2 separate regions of the Homo sapiens genome follow, and region 1 is linked to region 2. Evidence: promoter capture Hi-C in human tissues and cell types (Jung and others, 2019). All regions are on one chromosome and are shown on one strand. Each heading gives the region's core, a stretch centred on a gene start or on the middle of the fragment in contact. The rest is flanking DNA. Distances are from core to core; before and after follow the strand shown.

Evidence for each region. The method cuts DNA at HindIII sites, captures the fragments that hold promoters and counts their contacts. A contact is called where the count stands out against the background at its distance.
Region 1: a contact is called between a fragment that was not itself captured here and the fragment with the promoter of INSL4 in region 2, in 2 of the 25 tissues and cell types used here (IMR-90 fibroblasts and aorta).

The regions. Positions count from the first base shown.
Region 1 is chr9:5,294,023-5,300,648 of GRCh38, reverse strand. RLN2 (relaxin 2) reads left to right here. Exons shown (of 2, transcript NM_134441.3): 2 at 205-785. The coding sequence ends at 551. Among named protein-coding and RNA genes, the nearest start is that of RLN2, 7.4 kb to the left of the region's middle. The HindIII fragment of the contact is 5,390 bases long and covers 1,524-6,626 here.
Region 2 is chr9:5,226,897-5,232,917 of GRCh38, reverse strand. It overlaps INSL4 (insulin like 4), which reads right to left and starts at 1,499. Exons shown (of 2, transcript NM_002195.2): 1 at 1,199-1,499. The coding sequence starts at 1,394. RefSeq lists a promoter at 1,405-2,222. The HindIII fragment of the contact is 9,700 bases long and covers 1-4,400 here.

The sequences.
Region 1 (6,626 bases), core at 2,969-5,468, 65 kb before region 2:
AGCCTTGGTAAAATTATGGTACTTTAAGGTGTCCAACTGTAAGTAAGCTAAGTGTTTAGATATTAGGATGCTTGCTTATTTTGTTTCAATGTTTAATTTATACTGAGGCAATGCTTTTTTGTCTATGCAAACATTCATAGTTTTTCTGAGTGCTCTTTGACATGAATATACCCTCACATACACCTTTTTTTTTAAATTTAACAGAAATTGTGCCATCCTTCATCAACAAAGATACAGAAACCATAAATATGATGTCAGAATTTGTTGCTAATTTGCCACAGGAGCTGAAGTTAACCCTGTCTGAGATGCAGCCAGCATTACCACAGCTACAACAACATGTACCTGTATTAAAAGATTCCAGTCTTCTCTTTGAAGAATTTAAGAAACTTATTCGCAATAGACAAAGTGAAGCCGCAGACAGCAGTCCTTCAGAATTAAAATACTTAGGCTTGGATACTCATTCTCGAAAAAAGAGACAACTCTACAGTGCATTGGCTAATAAATGTTGCCATGTTGGTTGTACCAAAAGATCTCTTGCTAGATTTTGCTGAGATGAAGCTAATTGTGCACATCTCGTATAATATTCACACATATTCTTAATGACATTTCACTGATGCTTCTATCAGGTCCCATCAATTCTTAGAATATCTAAGAATCTTTGTTAGATATTAGGTCCCATCAATTCTTAGAATATCTAAACATCTTTGTTGATGTTTAGATTTTTTTATTTGATGTGTAAGAAAATGTTCTTTGTGTGATTAAATGACACATTTTTTTGCTGAAAAGCCTTTTTGTCTTTTTATTAACAGCATGATTATGTTGTGTTATTCTTTTTAATGCTGTTAACTTAAAATTACAATAAAACCTCTACCGCTTTAACCATACGTAGTAACAATACAGTTGTTACAATACCTAACACCATATAGTAGTAACAATACCTAACACCAGTTACATGAAATGGACCAAAATGTTTTATTGATATTAACTCTTAGATTGGATATAGATAAAGCCATAAAACTTGACCTTTCCTAATAGATTACAAAAGGTTTTTGTGTCATATTGAAATACTCATTGCAAACAATCGGATTGGACACTAAACCAATGTAATTTAGTTAAGACCATATAAACTCAAACGCTTTTTTTTCCTTTTTAATTTCCTTTTTTTCTAGTATAGTCTGAAGGGAACTCAAGTACTTTTCAAGCTAGGGTTCTGTTCTCAGTTCCAGTGTCTAAGAAACTTAAAAGTAAATTATTTTTTAAGGATAAAAAGGAATAGACATAATATAGAACAGAACAAACAAGTCCATATCATATATTACAGAAGAAATAGTATAATGAAGGAACATAATTTATGTTCACTTCTTTAGAATTTGCAAACTATTTCTGTAAGCAAAATTACTGAAATAGTATGAACACTTGTTAGAAAAGTAAACTGACGTAGTTATCAACTTAGTATTTTACTGGTTCTGTCTATTTTTTTTCTTTTTTAAAAATTATACTTTAAGTTCTTGGTTACATGTGCAGAACGTGCAGGTTTGTTACATAGATATACATGTTCCATGGTGGTTTGCTTCACCCATCAACCCATCACCTACAGTAGGTATTTCTCCAATGCTATCCCTCCCCTAGCCCCCCACCCCCAAACAGGCCACGGTGTGTGATATTCCCCTCCCTGTGTCCATGTGTTCTCATTGTTCAACTCCCATTTATGAGTGAGAACATGTGGTGTTTGGTTTTCTGATCTTGTGATAGTTTGCTGAGAATGATGGTTTCCAGCTTCATCCATGACCCTGCAAAGGACATAAACTCATCCTTTTTTATGGCTGCATAGTATTCCATGGTGTATATGTGCCACGTTTTCTTAATCCAGTCTATCATTGATGGACATTTGGGTTGGTTCCAAGTCTTTGCTATTGTGAATAGTGACGCAATAAACACATGTGCAAATGTCTTTATTGTAGAATGATTTATAATCCTTTGGGCATATGCCCAGTAATGGGATTGCTGGGTCAAATGGTATTTCTAGTTCTAGATCCTGGAGGAATCACCACACTGTCTTCCACAGTGGTTGAACTAATTTACACTCCCACCAACAGTGTAAAAGCATTCCTACTTATCCACAGCCTCTCCAGCATCAGTTGTTTCCTGACATTTTAATGATCGCCATTCTAACTGGCATGAGATGGTATCTCATTGTGGTTTTGATTTGCATTTCTCTAATGACCTGTGATGATGAGTATTTTTTCATGTCTGTTGGCTGCATAAATGTCTTCTTTTGAGAAGTATCTGTTCATATCCTTTGCCCACTTTTTGATGGGGTTTTTTTTTTTGTGAAGTTGTTTAAGTTCTTGGTAGATTCTGGATATTAGGCCTTTGTCAGATGGACAGATTGCAAAAATTTTCTCCCATTCTGTATGTTGCCTGTTCACTCTGATGATAGTTTCATTTGCTGTCCAGAAGCTCTTTAGTTTAATGTGATCCCTTTTGTCAATTTTAGCTTTTGTTGCCATTGCTTTTGGTGTTTCAGTCATGAAGTCTTTGCCCATGCATATGTCCTGAATGGAATTGCCCAGGTTTTCTTCTAGGATTTTTATGGCCCTAGGTCTTACGTTTAAGTCTTTAATCCGTCTTGAGTTGATTTTTGTATAAGGTAAGGAAGGGGTCCAGTTTCAGTTTTCTCCATATGGCTAGCCAGTTTTCCAAACACCATTTATTAAATAGGGAATTCTTTCCCCATTGCTTGTTTTTGTCAGGTTTGTTGAAGATCAGATGGTTCTAGATGTGTGGTTTATTTCTGAGGCCTCCATTCTGTTCCATTCATCTATATATCTGTTTTGGTACCAGTACCATGTTGTTTTGGTTATTGTAGCCTTGTAGTATAGTTTGAAGTCAGATAGTGCGATGCCTCCAGTTTTGTCCTTGTTGCCCAGGATTGTCTTGGCTATGCGGGCTCTTTTTTGGTTCCATATGAAGTTTAAAGTAGTTTTTTCCAATTCTGTGAAGAAAGTCAATGGTAGCTTGATGGGGATAGCATTGAATGTATAAATTTCTTTGGGCAATATGGCCATTGTCATGATATTGATTCTTTGTATCCACGAGCATGGAATGCTTTTCCATTTGTTTGTATCCTCTCTTATATCCTTGAGCAGTGGTTTGTAGTTCTCTTTGAACAGGTACTTCACCTCCCTTGTAAGTTGTATTCCTAGGTATTTTATTTTCTTAGTAGCAATTGTGAATGGGAGTTTACTCATGATTTGGCTCTCTGTTTGTCTGTTATTGGTGTATACGAATGCTTGTGATTTTTGCACATTGATTTTGTATCCTGAGACGTTGCTGAAGTTGCTTATCAGCTTAAGGGGTTTTTGGGCTGAAACAATGGGGTTTTCTAAATATACAGTCACGTCATCTGCCAACAGAGACAATTTGACTTCCTCTCTTCCTGTTCGAATACCTGTACTGCTTTCTCTTGCCTGATTGCCCTGGCCAGAACTTCCAGTACTGTGTTAAATAGGAGTGATGAGTGAAGGCATCCTTGTCTTGTGCCAGTTTTCAAAGGGAATGCTTCCAGCTCTTGCCAATTCAGTATGATATTGGCTGTGGGTTTGTCATAAATAGCTCCTATTATTTTGAGATATGTTCTATCAATACCTGTTTATTGAGTTTTTAGCATGAAGTGGTGTTGAATTCTATTGAAGGCCTTTTCTGCATCTATTGAGATAATCGTGTGGTTTTTGTCATTGGTTCTGTTTATGTGATGGATTATGTTTATTGATTTGTGTATGTTGAACCAGCCTTGCATCCCAGGTATGAAGCCAACTTGGTCATGGTGGATAAGCTTTTTGATGTGCTGCTGGATTCAGTTTGCCAGTATTTTATTGAGGATTTTCTCATTGATGTTCATTAGGGATATTGGCCTGCAATTTCCTTTTTTTGTTGTATCTCTGCCAGGTTTTGGTATCAGGATGATGCTGTCTTCATAAAATGAGTTAGGGAGGATTCTTTCTTTTTCTATTGTTTGGAATAGTTTCAGAAGGAATGGTACCAGCTCCTCTTTGTACCTCTGCTAGAATTTGGCTGTGAATCCATCTGGTCCTGGACTTCTTTTGGTTGGTAAGCTATTAATTACTGCCTCAATTTCTGACCTTGTTATTGGTTTATTCAGGGGTTCAACTTCTTTCTGGCTTAGACTTGGGAGGGTGTTTGTGTCCAGTTATTTATCCATTTCTTCTAGATTTTCTAGTTTATTTGTGTGGAAGTGTTTATAGTATTCTCTGATGGTAGTTTGTATTTCTGTGAGATCAGTGGTGATATCCCCTATGTCATTTTTTATTGTGTCTATTTGATTCTTCTCTATTTCTTCTTTATTAGTCTGGCTAGCGGTCTATCTATTTTGTTGAGTTTTTTCAAAAAACCAGCTCCTGGATTCATTGATTTTTTGAAGGGTGTTTCATGTCTCTATCTCCTTCAGTTCTGCTCTGATGTTAGTTATTTCATGTCTTCTGCTAGCTTTTGAATTTGTTTGCTGTTGCTTCTCTAGTTCTTTTATTTTTAATATTAGGATATCAATTTTAGATCTTTCCTGCTTTCTCTTGTGGGCATTTAGTGCTATAAATTTCCCTCTACACACTGCTTTAAATGTGTCCCAGAGAGTCTGTTACTTTGTGTCTTCATTCTCATTGGTTTCAAAGAACATTTTTATTTCTGCCTTCATTTCATTATTTACTCAGTAGTCATTCAGGAGCAGATTGTTCAGTTTTTTTGTAATTGTGTGGTTTTGAGTGAGTTTCTTAATCCTGAGTTCTAATTTGATTGCACTGTGGTCTGAGAGACTGTTTGTTATGATTTCCATTCTTTTCTATTGGCTGAGGAGTGTTTTACTTCCAATTATGTGGTCAATTTTAGAATAACTGCGATGAGGTGCTGAGAAGAATGTGTATTCTTTTGATTTGGGGTGCAGAGTTCTGTAGATGTCTATTAGGTCCGCTTGGTCCAGAGCTGAGTTCAAGTCCTGAATATCCTTGTTAATTTTCTGTCTTGTTGGTCTGTCTAATATTGACAGTGGGGTGTTAAAGTCTCCCACTATTATTGTGTGGGAGTCTAAGTCTCTTTGCGGGTCTCTAAAAACTTGCTTTATGAATCTGGGTTCTTCTGTATTGGATACATATATATTTAGGATAGTTAGCTCTTCTTGGTGAATTGATCCCTTTACCATTATGCAATGCCCTTCTTTGTCTCTTTTGATCTTTGTTGGTTTAAAGTCTGTTTTATCAGAGATTAGGATTGCAACTCCTGCTTTTTTTTTTTTTTTGCTTTCCATTTGCTTGGTAAATATTCCTCCATCCCTTTATTTTGAGCCTATGTGTGTCTTTGCACGTCAGATGGGTCTCCTGAAGACAGCACACTGATGGGTCTTGACTCTTTATCCAATTTGCCAGTCTGTGTCTTTTAATTGGGGCATTTAGCCCATTTACATTTAAGATTAATATTGTTATGTGTGAATTTGATCCTGTCATTATGATGCTAGCTGGTTGTTTTGCCTGTTAGTTGATGCAGTTTCTTCATAGCATCGATGTTCTTTATAATTTGTCATGTTTTTGCAGTGGCTGGTACCAGTTGTTCCTTTCCATGTTTAGTGCTGCCTTCAGGAATTCTTGTAAGGCAGGTCTGGTGGTGACAAAATCCCTCAGCATCTGCTTGTCTGTAAAGGATTTTATTTCTCCCTCCTTTATGAAGCTTAGTTTGGCTGGATATGAAATTATGGTTTGAAAATTCTTTTCTTTGAGAACGTCGAATATTGGTCCCTACTCTTTACTGGCTTGTAGGGTTTCTGCAGAGAGATCCACTGTTAGTCTGATGGGTCTCCCTTTGTGGGTAACCTGACCTTTCTCTCTGGCTGCCCCAATATTTCTCTCTGGCTGCCCTTAACATTTTTTCCTTCATTTCAACCTAGGTGAATCTGACAGTTATGTGTCTTGGGGTTGCTCTTCTCAAGGAGTATTTTGTGGTGGTCTCTGTATTTCCTGAATTTGAATGTTGGCCTGTCTTGCTAGGTTGGGGAAGTTCTGGATAATATCCTGAGATGTGTTTTCCAACTTGGTTCCATTCTCCCCTTCACTTTTAGGTACACCAATCAGACGTAGATTTTGTCTTTTCACATAGTCCCATATTTCTTGAAGACTTTGTTCATTCCTTTTTATTCTTTTTTCTCTAATCTTGTCTTCTCTCTTTATTTCAATGAGTTAATCTTCAATTACTGATATCCTTTCTTCCATTTGATCAATTCAGCTATTGGTACTTGTGTATTCTTCACAAAGTTCTCGTGCTGTGTTTTTCAGCTTCATCAGGTCATTTATGTTCTTCTCTACATTGATTATTCCAGTTAGCAATTCAACTAACCTTTATTCAAGGCTCTTAGCTTCCTTGTATTGAGTTAGAACATGCTCCTTTAGCTTGGAGGAGTTTGTTATTACCCACCTTCTGAAGCCTACTTCTATCAGTTTGTCAAACTCATTCTCCATCCAGTTTTGTTCCTTGCTGGCAAGGAGTTGTGATCCTTTGGATGAGGAGAGGCATTCTGGTTTTTGGAATTTTCAGCCTTTTGCACTGGTTTTTCCCCATCTTTGTGG
Region 2 (6,021 bases), core at 250-2,749:
GTTATATAAATCACACAAAATCCAAGTGCATTCACTGTGCACGATAACTTTAAACAGAGTCATTTAATGATTTAATGAAGTGTATGCATATGGGTTACAAGAAGCAGTTCTGGAGTCACACATTGCTGGTTCAAAACCTGTGTCATTTGTATTAAATGTAAAACAATGTTTAGTAATTTAACTTAGCTTTTCAGAACTTAATACGACCTATTAGACAGAATATAGTAGCCTCTATCTCTTTTCGAAACTGCCCCTGCTAGTTTTAACTTAGCTGGCAATTTATCTTTATGAATACCTTGTTACTTGGTAAAGTTTGAAAACTATCCTGGTATTGAACTTTCCTCAATTCTGAAATCTTGCTTTTAAAGAAAATGCTTTGCAGTCTCAAATGTTGAAAACACTAATCAAATCAGCTATGATGGTCTGAACAGTGAAATTCCCTTGTCTCTGGTCCCCTTCAATTTCCCCTCTAGTCATCCAGGCCACTTTCTTTCTCTTCATCTCATCTCTCTCAACACACTACAAGAGTAGATTCAAAGAAATGGGAGGCAAGGTGCTCTGTTGGTGTGCATTAAAAAAAACTTTTTTGTAAGAGGACGTTTTTGGTGACATAGACCACTGCCCAGCTTAATGACAAAGGATGAGAGTTATTAAATCTAAGCCCCCTTTATCTCACATTCCAGGAACCTAACAGAGGTCTCAGTGTGCTGCCCCTAGGCCAATAGGTGCATAAACAGAAATGATAATCAGCTCATCACCTCACTGTTTGTCCCCTTTCTTCTTAATTGAAGATGCCTGGCCCAGGCATCTCATTGCAATCACACCTGTTTTCTGGCCTGCCCAGCTTTCCTGGGGGTCTGGGAGTACACCTCACCTCCTGCTGGTGTTTGAGAATAGTCACCTTCTCTGAGGATTCCCTGTTTTCTCCACCCTGTATCTCTGGCTGCCAGGTGGGAAAGGCACCAAGAGCCTCCAAGGTGAGGCTGTTCTTCTGTTTTTCCTGCAGCTTCTCCTCTACCCCCAACTTCCCATGAGATTTCTGGTGAGACCCTTTTAATAAAAGCACATTACAATGAAAAACCACAAACTTGTAGGCACTAGCCACAGTAGAGTCTGAGTTGACTACAGGCAGTCAATGAGATCTGGAGCCTGTTTTTTCAGGCCTCATTCTGATTGTTTGGTAGTCCAGGGCTCTCACCTTTGGGACGTCCAGATTCCAGCAGCCACCCTCCTGGGGTGGTGGTGAATGTCTTCTCAGGCATGGGGCAATATGACAGCAAGTGTTTTCCAAATCGGGGACCACATCCCCTCAGCTCTGCTGCTAGGCTTTCTCTAAGGAGTTGGCTCAGCAGCAGCCAGATTGCTGGCAGATAGGACCGGAACAGGCTGGCCATCCTGGACCTGAACTCTCCTGTTCTGGGTGTTCTCAGCCTTTCTTTAGAGACTTGCTGCTGTAGCCTACCAGACTGTGCTGGTGTGTCCCTTCTGGGCTCCAGACTGCTTTCTGCATGCCTTCATCAGGCATTTATTTGCTTAGGGCTATTACTCAGCTTTTGCGTCAATGGTGTCAGTTCCACCCCTTTCCCACCCACCTACAAGGAACTTTCTCCCTCAGTTCTTATTTAGTCTCCCTACTTGCCCTACCCACACTCTCATATCCCTCTTTGCTCCCAATGTGCTGCTGCACTTTGCTTGTTTTGAATTTGGTTGTTCTACTTCTTTTTCTTAACTTTCCTCCTGTAATACTATTTTTATGCTTACTAAAATAATGGTAATTTTTAATGTCCTTTGCTTAGATGAAATAAAAATAGAACTGACCTGTAAGCTCATTGGCTAGAAATTATCTTAGTTAACATTTGGCATATAAGCTTTTAATTGCGGGGGTCTGTCCCACAGACCCTGACCCAACGACGGATGAATAACATACACTGACACAGATAGTTTGCCTGTCAGTCCAGCTGAGGGTCCGGGCCACCTACAGACACCAAGGAGGGTGCTGTAAAGAGTTGCAGCCGTGGCCCCGATCAGCCAGCAAAGCTCACATTTATTCAGCATAGATTAAATGACGAAGGTCTTGAGTAAACACCACTAGAAGGTAATTGACATTGCCAACCTCCCGAGTAGAGAGCAATTATGCACCCGCGGTTGATCAAAGATTAGTCTTAGGACCACATGAGTAAACAAACTAGATAAACTACATTCATTTGTATCTGTGCCTTAAGCTATTAACTCAAGGTAAGGATTAGGCTGCCTTCAGCCTGATCTATTACTGGAGCTTATACAAACCCCTCCGGCGTTTCAAAAAGGTTTGCGTCTTTTTCTTATAACTATCTGAAAAAATTTTCCCACCAGCCTGACTGAACTCTCACATCTCCCCCCTTTCTGTTCTTTGCATCGGGTTCTGTTGACTTAAGAGTACAGATGTGTGCAGCAACAGGTTTGTTAGGTTTTGCTTTTATTCCGGCTTTGCATCATAGAATTAGCAAATAACGTAAGACAATCATGAGTATAATTAGTAACATTCCTTTCCAGTCAAAGTGTGACCCCCAGGATCGGGGGTATAACCAGGAGAAATGATCTTGCACACCTTTCCATATGGCTGTTTGTTGAGTATGTAGATCTATCATGTGAAGGGATTCTAAAATTTTAGTTTTAAGTTGCTTTACGTCTGCTGTTAAATTGTCATGAAAGTTTCCCCAGAGGTGTTGTTTCACCTCATCCCAACTATGTATTGATTGATTCCAAGGTAAAAATGTGACACAGATATGTTTATGCTCCCAGTCACAGTTTAATTGCTATCAGAATGCTAGGGCATCTTGTCGCTCCCCCACAAATTCCAAGGCAGCCTCGAGGGCTTGCAGACGTGCAAGAATCTCTTGATCTATACCCTGCTGTAAGAGAAGTTCATTAGACACATTTCTGGCCAAATTGTCTACAAAAGCAGCTGTTTGCACTGATTCGGTAGTAGATGCTATAGCCACACTAGCAGTTGCTAGGATGACTATGGCTGAGACTATAAAGGTTATAAGTGTGCCTATAAATCTTTTGGGTCTGACCTGGGATAGGGCACATTCTAAGGTGGCAAAGGAAGAGGAACCTTGCCAATAGTGTGTCAAATTGACGGGTAGGAATGCCTCAGATTGTCTCCTTAATACCATGACACTAGTAGTATTTAAATTAGATATATTGTAATTAGTGGTACATGAGGCAAACAAAGCCTGTCCTTGCACCCGGGTCACAAACATGGAATTTTGGGTTGTAATAGAAATATTAGTTCCCATAAGGAAAACATATGGATGGAGTTGCAAATTAGGGACTGATCAGTGTGATTATGAATAAAGGTTATAGTATAGTTGTTACTGTAATTATGATATGTCCCATGCCAGGTGTCAAGGGAGGTGCTAAGATGTCCCAGGCAACATAAAGTGTCTTGGGGAGGCATCAACTTTACTCGGGGTCTGGGATATCCTATCCTCCCATCGGCCCAAATCATAAGGGAATGGGACGAGGCTATGAAACTGTGATCGATGCCATGATGGATGAGGATATCAGTAAGGCTGCCCTACAAATGGCCACAGGGGCTCCAGTCTAGGATGTTATAATTGCCTAACTGGAGGCTATGAGCTTATTCCCCATGACAGATCTCCCAGCTAAAGTGGAATCCGTTATTTTTCCGGCTTTGTTCTTTAGCACAGGAAGGAATGTTTGGGAAAGCAGACTTGATTTCCGTTTTGAGGCTACCTGCAGCTAAGACTGTTAAGGCACTTCTTTTGCCATGATGTAGCCATAATTGTGTTTCAGTAGGTGCACACTAAGGGTTAGAACATTTATAATTTACACACAATGGGAGGATAGTAGAGTGATCTGTAGTGTTATCTGGCACCTTAGTCCAATGTGTGCCATTATTGAGGAACCCCACTGGGGGTAAATCTATCCCTCCTAGCTAAGCAGTCACGTTATTAAAGGCTGGGAAGGGGTTGTATACCCAAGTGACAGGGCAAAAGAAAAGTGGATCTAAGATATGAGCCCAATAGAGTGTAGACATTGCCACCCTCCCGAGTAGAGAGCAATTATGCACCTGCGGTTGATCAAAGGTTGGTCTTAAGACCACATGTGTAAACAAGCTATTTAGATAAACTACTATACATTCCTTTGTATCTGTGCCCTAAGCTATTAACTCAAGGTAAGGATTAGGCTGCCTCCAGCCTGATCTATTACTGGAGCTTATGCAACACCTCCAGCCTTCCAAGAAGGTTTGCATCTTTTTCTTATAACTATCTTTAAATTTTTCCCACCAGCCTGACTCAACTCCCACATTTAATATTTCTCCTAACTTACTCCGTATTTATTTGTATTTTTTCTTCCAAACATTAAAATATATTGTATTGATTTCTATATTGTCTTGTGTATCTATCCATAGTATTTTGATGAGTGGATGGATCAGTTGTTCATTAGAGAAAGACGACTAGTGATGTTTAAACCAGGTCCTGTGAACACTATTAAAATTCCAATAACATCACTTTAGGCTTGTATAACAATGTTTGAAGTTTACAAGGAACTTTCTTCAAAGGTATGTACTTACATCTGCCCTCCATTGATCCTGAGAAGGATGAGAAACACAGGCATCCTATAGGGTTGACTGTTAAGTCTTGGGAGAGCACCCATGGAGGTTTTTTTTATACTTGGGAGAAATCACATTGTATCTTTCCATGAATTTCTTTCTTTGAACTCCCATGGGTGATTGATTAATTGTTACCAGTTATCTGAATACTTAATTTGAAACTACAATTACTGTCTCTAGAGTCTGGAGCTGGAGGCCACACACACACACACACACACACACACACACACACACACACACACACACCAAAAAAGGCAAGAAAAGAGCAGAAGAATTCAACAGTTTCAGGGAGAACATATTGGTAACACATGTTCATGCACAAAATTGTATACCTTTATGATCAACTTTTGTATACTATGTGTGTTGTAGTTTGTGAAAAGGGTTTTTAAATCACATTTTATTATTTATTTCCTATTCCTTTTTTTTTCAACTTTAAGTTCAGGGGTACATGTGCAGGATGTGCAGGTTCATTACATAGGTAAATGTGTGCCATGGTGGTTTACTGCGCAGATCATCTCATCACCCAGGTGTTAAGCCCAGCATCCATTAGTCATTCTTCCAGATGCTCTCCCTTGCCCCACCACCCCCACAGTTGCCCAGAGTGTGTTGTTCCCCACCATGTGTCCATGTGTTCTCATCATTCAGCTCCCACTTATAAGTGAGAAAATGCAGTGTTTGGTTTTCTGTTCCTGTGTTAGTTTGCTGAGGAGAACGGTTTCCAACTCCATCCATGTCCCTGCAAAGGACATGATCTCATTCCCTTTTATGCATAGTATTCCATGGTATATGTACCACATTTTCTATATCCAGTCTATCATTGATGGGCATTTCAGTTGATTCCATGCCTCTGCTATTGTGAATAGTACTGCAGTGAACATAAGCGTGCATGTATCTTTGTAATAGAATGATTTATATTCCTTTGGGTGTATATCCACTAATGGAATTTCTGGGTAAAATAGTGTTTCTGGTTCTAGATCTTTGAGGAATTGCCACACCACCTTCCTTAATGGTTCAACTAATTTACATTCCCACCAAAGTGTAAAAGCATTCCTATTTATCTGCAACCTTGCCAGCATCTGTTGTTTCTTGACTTTGTAGTAAATTGCCATTCTGACTGGCATGAGATTGTATCTCATTGTAATTTTGATTTGCATTTATCTAATGATTAGTGATGTAGAGCTTTTTTCCAATTGTTTTGTGGCCCCATGAATGTCTTCTTTTGAGAAGTGTCTGTTCATGTCCTTTGCTCACTCTTTAATGGGGTTGTTTGTTTTTTTCTAGTACATTTGTTTAAGTTCCTTGTAGATTCTGGATACTAGACCTTTGTCAGATGGACAGATTGCAAAAGTTTTCTCCCATTTAGTAGGTTGTCTGTTCACTCTGATGATAGTTTCTTTTGC